3 separate regions of the Homo sapiens genome follow, and all the other regions are linked to region 1. The links are contacts of gene promoters, found by promoter capture Hi-C in human tissues and cell types (Jung and others, 2019). All regions are on one chromosome and are shown on one strand. The core of a region is centred on a gene start or on the middle of the fragment in contact, and the rest is flanking DNA. Distances in the headings are between cores, read along the strand shown. Region 1 holds the start of JPH3 (junctophilin 3). Region 2 overlaps FBXO31 (F-box protein 31). Region 3 overlaps ZCCHC14 (zinc finger CCHC-type containing 14).

Region 1 (2,599 bases), core at 53-2,552:
CCTGCTGTGTCCGACGCACGGAGGCTCTGCTGGGCCCCGCCTGGCTCTGCCCCTGGAAAGCCCCCAACACCCTTCAGCTGGCACAGGGGCACTGTCCCCACCAGGCAGCGGGGCAACCTGTAGCCAGGAGCCGCCGTGGCTTCCAGGGAAGCCCGGGAAAGGCCCCTGGTGCCCACGGCCCAACCGGAGGACGCAGCTCAACTTCCCCAGAGATCCACAGAAGGGGCGCGATCGGAAGCACGTCCCTCCCGCCCCGGCCCGGCCCGGCCCGCGGCACCTACCTCCGTCCGAGTAGGTCTCGGTCCCGTAGCCGTCCTGCAGCCCGTTGCTCCAGGTCCCTTCGTATTTGGCCCCGTTGCCCGCGCACTCCCGCACCCCGTAGCGCCCCTTGAATCCGTGCGTCCACTCGCCCTTGTACACCCACTTCCCCTTGCTCTCCAGGCCGATGCCGTGGCGCTTGCCCTGCGCCCAGGTGCCCTGGTACGTGTTGCCGCTGGGCCAGGTGTAGACGCCCAGCACCTCGAAGCCGTGGCTCCACGAGCCGGTGTATTCGCCTTGGCCCTTGGGGCCGGTGCAGACGCCATGGCCGTGCGCCTTGCCGTCCTCCCAGCCTCCACAGTAGGACCCTCCGTCGTCAAAATTAAACCTGCCCCCACTGGACATGCATGTAACTCGGTTCCAGATCCCGCAAACGGTGAAAACGGACTCAGGCGATCGACACAGCAGAGTCGCGGCCGCCGGCGGCCCTGGGTCGCGAGCGTTTTCCGGAGGAGAGGAGGACGCGGCCCCGGAGCGCGGTCTCGGGCGCGGGCGGCCGCGGCGCCGGCTCCGGAGGAATTTCAGTCAATCGGGGGCGATTATTCCTTTTCGAGCTGCGCCGCGGAGCCTGACCAGCGTCTCGCGCTCCCGCTGGAGACAGGACCGGAGGGGAGGGGGAGGGGAGGAGGGAGGGAGGGGGCAGGAGCGGCGGCGGCGGGGCCCGCGGCTCCACCTCAGCGGCGAGAGGGCCCCTCGCCGGCAGCCCCGCGGGGAGGGCGCCGCGCCGAGGCCGGGCGGGGGGCAGCTCAGGCCCGGGCCGCGGCCCCCCACCTGCGGCTGCCGCGCTGCGGGCGCCCGAGGGCGGCGGCGGGGCCCGCGGGCGGCGGCGGCGGCACGGGCGGCGGCGCTGGCGGCTGCACCATATTGGGGGCCGCGGGCCGGGCGCGGGGCGGCGGCGGCAGCAGCAGCAGCAATGCGGCGGCTCGGGCGGCGGCGGCGGCGGTGGCGGCGGCGGCGTGCGCTCCGGGCCCGGCTCGCGCGCTCGGGCCGCGCGGCGCGCGCCCGCACCCCGCCCGCCCGCGCGCCCCCGCCCGCCCCCCGCCCCCCGCCCCCCGCCCCCGCCCCCGCCCCCGCCCCCGGAGCGCGGCGGTCCCAAGAGGGGCGCGGCCCAGCAGGCTAGGGCGCGGCGCGCGGGCGGGGACCCCGGGCGCCCCGCCCTCCGCGCCCCCAGCCCCGCGCTCCCCGCCCTGGGCTTCCCCGGGGCCCCCGCCGGACTGGAAACCGGGGTCCAGCCGGGGCGCCCCCGCCCCCTCCGGGAGTGGGATTTAAAGGCACAGGAACTGCGTCATGGGAAGGCGCGCAGCACTCAGGGCGCCCTCGGCCCCCTCCCGGGAGCTGGGCGGTGAGGCCTGCAGAGCAGGACCTGCCAGCTGAGCGCCCCTACCCTCGCCCCTGCCCGCCCCCGCGCCTCGCCCCTCCCGCCGGGCTCGGATCTGCCCCGCCTGCCCCTGACTCGACTGAGGCCCTTTGCAAACCACAGGTGGTTTTCTCCGGTGACAAACAATGCTTCCTTCTTCCTTCCGGGCAGCTTGGGTCCAAGAGTGGGGGGAGGGGGGCTTACCCCAGAAAACAGGGATTTGGCGAGTCCCTCTCCCCTATAAATTGAGTGAGAGTCGGGACACACGCGTGTATCTTGGAGCAAAGTCACCCGAATTCCGTGCGCCCTGCGCCCTGGCCAACAGGTAGCGCCCCCCCACTCGGGGAACGGTCGCGCTTTTGGGGAGCAAAGTGGGACCGCCATTCGGGCGTTTCTAGGTCTCTCTCCAGACATACTCTCACCCTCCGCCCCTCTTCCCACGCACAAGAGAGAGTCTGATTCTTGGATCCGAGCATCCTGGGATCCATTTAAAATGCATTTCCTGGACCATAAATCCTCAGGCAGAAGCCGGCGTCCCCAGCCCTCCTGAAATGCGTGCGGGAAATGGCAGCAGACCGGTGCAGTGGGCTGATGGGGGTGTGGAGGCTGCCCAGGGTCCTCGCTCCTGGGAGTGTGGGCCGGTGACCGCAGCGCGGTGAGCCAGAAACTGCAAGCCAGGCCTGGAGCCTGAGATTAGGACAGGAGAAGAGGTGCGATTCGGAGCCTCCAATCAGCCAGGAGCCCTGCTCAGATCTTCCCCTGTCCGAGAGAATCAGGATGGTCCCCACTCTTGGCTCACGGGGCTCTCAGAAAAATCAGCCCCTCCTGGGAGTCCCAGAGTTCAACCTCAGTCTCTTGCCTTGGGCACCAAAGCTCCCTCCCCAGAGTACCAGCAGCCAGGAGGACAGTCACCTCCTCATACAC
Region 2 (2,599 bases), core at 32-2,531, 240 kb after region 1:
AGAGGCTCCTTGGCCCCAGGCTGTCTTCCCGCGGGTGTTTCTTCAGTGCCAGGGACTTTCCCATTTCTTGCTCACTGGACGAAGCTCTTGGCTTTTTTGGATGGTCAGAGGGTTTCTGTGAGTGTCTCATACCCCACGTTTTCATCTTCTGACCATTCTTTGAGCTTCTTTTCTTTTTTCTTTTTCATTTCTGCAAGGCAGTTGCTCTTTGAGTTTCTTAGGCCATTTGGGTCATATCATCTCAAAGTGACATGAAGACATATTTCTCTCTAAGAGTTGTCAGCACCAAAAGTCATGTCCCGGTAGGGACACAGGTGTTTGGCCTGCCCAGGTGTTAGGGTTTCCTGTAACAGCCATAGGAGTGTACACATGGATGCTCCTTCCAGCTGTGGGGGTCGGAGGTGTTGCCTGAGCACTGAGTCCTCCTGTCCTGTGGGAGAGGCCATCCGGGCATAGGCAGGCAGGAGGCAGTGTGGCCGAGGGTAGGGCAGGGGGTGGGCACAGAAGAGGGGATAGGAGGACAGGGCATTGGGAGATTTCTTTTCACTGCTGATTCTTGACCCCTTGAAAGTGTTTGCAAAATGCGGAGAATTCACATGATCTGTTTCCGACAGTGTTTATTCCCCGCAGTGTTAGTCTGCAGTGGCCAAAGCAAATGTCAGTGTTCATTTTCACAGCGCAGCAACTGTGTTTCTGTGAATTTGCTTTAAGGCTTATCCAGGAGAAAATTACTTAGCTTTGGGAACAGGTGGTGGAAGAAAATCAGCCTTAGCTCCAGAAACGGGTGGTGTAGTTGGGCAACCTTGGATGACCTGTGACGAGGCTGGCCTGAGTTAGCAGGCTGGGAAACGCCAGGTGGGTGCTGGGCAAAGTGAGTATGTTAGCCGGGGTAAGTGTTCTCTAGACGGTCATCCCAGATGCTCACCTGCCAGGACACCTGCCCTCCCACCTCCTGAGCCCCAGTGAGCTGTGGCCTGGGGCCTGCCGGGAGTGTGCTGGCCCCGGGAGGAGTGTGATCAAATATGGAAAGGATTTCCAAGCTTGCTGCCACCGTGAGTTTCTGGTGGCACCACTGATGGAAGGAAAACGTGTCACAGTGTTGTTCTCTCCAGCAGGTTTCTCAGAGCCACCTCTCTGTGTCCTGGGTGGCTGCATAAACACGAGGGGATTGTATCACACTGGTGAGGGGCAGGCATTGGGTCGTATTCACGCTGTTTGCACAGTCCTGTAAAGGGAGCCATCCTTAGCCCTTTCCCTGCTGTGTCTGTTCAGGTATAAACCCTCGCGTGAAGTCGGGACGTTTTGTGAAAATTCTCCCTGATTATGAGCACATGGCGTACAGAGACGTTTACACCTGCCGTATGTACCTCCTGCGAGCTTTGGCTTCTGCGGCAGCCAGCACGGCCAAGAACTGCATGGGGAGGGCCCTCTGATTCACACATGGGACAGCTTTGGTCCTGGAGCAAGCGGACCTCGTGGCTTTTTGTCATCCTTTCACGTTCACTTGCTGCAGCGTGGCTCTGCTTCAGCTGTGACAGAGATCACACCTGTGTGTTGGACCCAGGCTGCATTTGGCTTACCTTTCTGCAGTGGTTTCTGGGTACTACCAGTCGAGATCACTTTAATGCACATTTTCACATGTATCGTTTATTGAGGAGCTACTGCAGACACAGAGAGGAACGAACAGAGTAGAAGCTTTAAAATTTTATTCTAAAGTGAAATATGAATATTTGACTTCTGACCTTTATTAGTTTTAATCACATTTTAATAGCCTATGTGAATTAAAAATCACATATGCATATACCCTCAATAGACAAAGGCAGGTAGCAACAGTTGACTCCTTTTTTTTTTTTGAGGCAGAGTCTCACTCTGTCACCCAAGCTGGAGTGCAGTGTCACAACCTCTGCCTCCTCGGTTCAAGTAATACTGCCACCTCAGCCTCCCAGGTAGCTAGGATTACAGGCATACACCACCATGCCCAGCAAATTTTTTTGTATTTTTAGTAGAGATGGGGTTTCATCATGTTGGCCAGGCTGGTCTCAAGTGATCTGCCCATCTCGGCCTCCCAGAGTTCTGGGATTACAGGCATGAGGTACCGTGCCTGGCTAACAGTTGACTCTTTAGAACTTAATTCTTCTTTTTGGCCAGACATGGTGGCTAATGCCTGTAATCCCAGTGCTTTGGGAGGCCGAGGCAGGTGGATCATCTGAGGTCAGGAGTTCGAGACCTGTCTGGCCAACATGGTGAAACTCATCTCTACTAAAAGTACAAAAATTAGCTGGGTGTGGTGGCGTGTGCTTGTAATCCCAGGTACCCAGAGGCTGAGGTGGGGGAATCGCTTGAACCCGGGAGGTGAAGGTTGCAGTGAGCCGAGATCACGCCATTGCACTCCAGCCTGGGAGACAAGAGCGAGACTCTGTCTCAAAAAAAAAAAAAAAAAAAGAACCGAATTCTTTTGATGGAGCTCTGGAAATTTTTCTAAGCCACAGTTATAGGAATTTAATGCTGTCTCCACTTTTTTTTTTTGAGACAGGGTCTGTCTTGTTGCCCAGGTTGGAGTGCAGTGGCACAATTACAGCTCATTGTATCCTTGAACTCC
Region 3 (2,599 bases), core at 42-2,541, 150 kb after region 1:
CCCCACTTGACCCTCGTAGCAACCCCCTGAGGTCGCAACAGTCTTTGTCTTATCCACTGCTCTTGGGAGGGTCTGTGGCTCTTGGTTGAGCGTCTTCACCGCACCCTCATCCTGGTGATGCCGCGATGCTCCAACCCCAGAGCGGACACTTGGCGTCGGAATTGCAGGGAGTCCCTCCGCTGTAGAAAGGGCTCCTCCTCTTCCTTCCCCCATGCCATCCCAGGAGAAAGGCCTGCCGTGGAGTGCCGCTTCCTTTGTCCCCAGACAGTCCAGCCTAGGAACCTGTGCCCTGCACACCCTGTGAATCTTAAGGGATGGACCCTTCAGTGCTTTTTCTTCAGGATGTAATTATTGACATCCCCATTCTTTTTTTTTTTTTTCTGTATAATTTCAAAGTAGCGAGTATCTGTCATTGTCTCGTCTGCATGCTTTGGTGCCCAGAGAGACAGAGGGTGAGCTGACTCTCATGTGAGCTGTGGCAAAGCCTGCGTAGGCTGGCGGGTCGGCTCTGAGGCCACGAGTGGTCATTCTCAAACCCCACAGTGCTTAAAATACCGCAGCGAGCAGACGCTCTTAATTACCTGCAGCATTCTCCATTCATTAGTCATAGAGGGTCGCGGTTTCTGTTGTCCGGAAATTGGCAAGTGAGTTAACTTGGTTTTCTTAGTCACTTTTCATGTGAATCCTTTTAATATTCTGTTGGGTGCAGGTTATTGCCCTTCAGAAAGTCTAAAGTCACAGTAAGTTGTATAGTTTTATTACTATAAAGTTTTCTCTCTGTCTTTTCTGTATCCTACTTCTGTTTTGGTTTTTCTCTGCTTCTTCAGAAGTCTTACAGTGATACAGTTTAATTTATAGAGTGGTCAGACATTTAAAAAATTTCTTAGTATGTAAAAGGTTAGGGAAGCTTTTATATACTTGAACAACAGTCCAAGCACATGACTAACTTACATGACAGATACTGACTTACATCATCTTCATAACAGCCCTTTGAGGGCTGATTATACCTATTTAATTCTAACTGATCCCATGTGGTGATTTTTACCCCATTTTACAGATGGGAGAACTGAGTCACAGATAAGAAATTTTCCTGAGGTCAGCTGGGATTCAAAGCCAGAGCTAATGCTCTTAACCCTGTGGCTGGCTGAAGAAAATAGCAGAGGAAAAGAAAGGTGGGACTGTACTGAAAGTGGAAAACACACCGTTGTGTGGGCAGTGCCTATGAGTACACATTAACCAGTGAAATCATTCCTTTTTTTCCTGACCTATTTATTGTGAACATTTTCCAGTTCAGGAGTAGAGATTGTAGCCTAGTAAACCCCGTACCCAGTGCCTGGCTGCAGCTCCAGGTCACTGTGTGTGGCTTCTGAGCCCCCTGCCCCTCGTGGGTGTGGCTGAGAACTGCGGTGCACTCTCCAGCGCTCCAGTCCCTGTGTTGATGATTTACTGAAACTTAGGGAAGCTGTTGTAGTGTACAAGCTGAGATGGAAACTGCTTTTACTAATACTCTCAACAAAGTAAGTTCTGTAACTTTGGACTTTGAGGAATTATAATTTTTTAAAGTTTTCTTTTTGTGAGACAGTGAAGGAGGTATACTTTCATTAAACTTGTTTATATACCAGTAGTTTTCAATCTTTTTGGTCTTAGGACCCCTTTGCACTCTTAAAAATTAGAGATTCCAAAGAATCCATGTTTATGTGGGTCACATCTATAGGTATTTACCATATTATCGATTAAAACTGAGTTTTTAAAAATTATTTTAAATGAATGTTTTCCATTGTGTGCCCCTGGGGTTTGTGTTTGCCATGCAGCGTTGTTACAGCTGAAGAGAGCTAAAGACCAAACTCCAAAACAAAATCTATCCCAACCAATTAGAACATGAATTCTAAGAAGACAAGAATTCACCTAAAATCTAAATTTTTTTTTTTTTTTTTTTTTTTTTTTTTTGGAGACAGAGTCTTGCTCTGTCGCCCAGGCTGGAGTGCAGTGGCGCAATCACAGCTCACTGCAACCTCCGCCTCCCGGGTTCACGCCATTCTCTTGCCTCAGCCTCCGGAGTAGCTGCTGGGGCTACAGGTGCCGGCCACCACGCCCGGCTATTTTTTTATATTTTTAGTAGAGACGTGGTTTCACCGTGTTAGCCAGGATAGTCTCGATCTCCTGACCTCGTGATCCGCCCGCCTCGGCTTCCCAAAGTGCTGGGATTACAGGCGTGAGCCACTGCGCCCAGCCCTAAAATCTAAATTCTAAAATGCCCACAGTCTGTGGCCTTTCCTGGGTTGTGCTGGGATTCCAGTGTGTAGCCGAAATCGAGAAGCCTTGATAGTTTCAATTTCCTTATGGGTTCTTTATCTAACATTTTATTATGAGGACTTTGAAACACACGGTAAAGTTGAAAAAGTTTCACAGTGAGTACCCTTCACCTAGATTAGACAGTTCCATTTTACCGCATAGATGCTTTTCAACTTACAGTGGGGGCTGCAAGTTGAAAATACCACAAGTTGCAATGCAGTGAATACACCACACCTGCTACACATCATGGCTTAGCCTAGCCTACCTTAAATGTGCTCAGAACGCTTGCATTAGCCTGCAGGTGGGC

Evidence for each region. Contacts are between HindIII fragments. The study calls those that stand out against the background at their distance.
Region 2: a contact is called between a fragment that was not itself captured here and the fragment with the promoter of JPH3 in region 1, in 2 of the 25 tissues and cell types used here (H1 embryonic stem cells and IMR-90 fibroblasts).
Region 3: a contact is called between a fragment that was not itself captured here and the fragment with the promoter of JPH3 in region 1, in 2 of the 25 tissues and cell types used here (IMR-90 fibroblasts and small bowel).

The regions. Positions count from the first base shown.
Region 1 is chr16:87,601,211-87,603,809 of GRCh38, reverse strand. JPH3 (junctophilin 3) reads right to left here and starts at 1,302. Exons shown (of 5, transcript NM_020655.4): 1 at 282-1,302. The coding sequence starts at 663. It overlaps LOC124903750 (a long non-coding RNA gene), which reads left to right and starts at 1,627. Exons shown (of 2, transcript XR_007065172.1): 1 at 1,627-1,798. RefSeq lists an enhancer at 2,201-2,599. The HindIII fragment of the contact is 15,663 bases long and covers 1-2,599 here.
Region 2 is chr16:87,357,171-87,359,769 of GRCh38, reverse strand. All of the region lies in intron 2 of FBXO31 (F-box protein 31), which reads left to right. Among named protein-coding and RNA genes, the nearest start is that of FBXO31, 25 kb to the left of the region's middle. The HindIII fragment of the contact is 3,111 bases long and covers 1-2,599 here.
Region 3 is chr16:87,455,882-87,458,480 of GRCh38, reverse strand. The region is part of intron 2 of ZCCHC14 (zinc finger CCHC-type containing 14); the gene reads left to right. Among named protein-coding and RNA genes, the nearest start is that of ZCCHC14, 36 kb to the left of the region's middle. RefSeq lists an enhancer at 109-1,308. The HindIII fragment of the contact is 7,552 bases long and covers 1-2,599 here.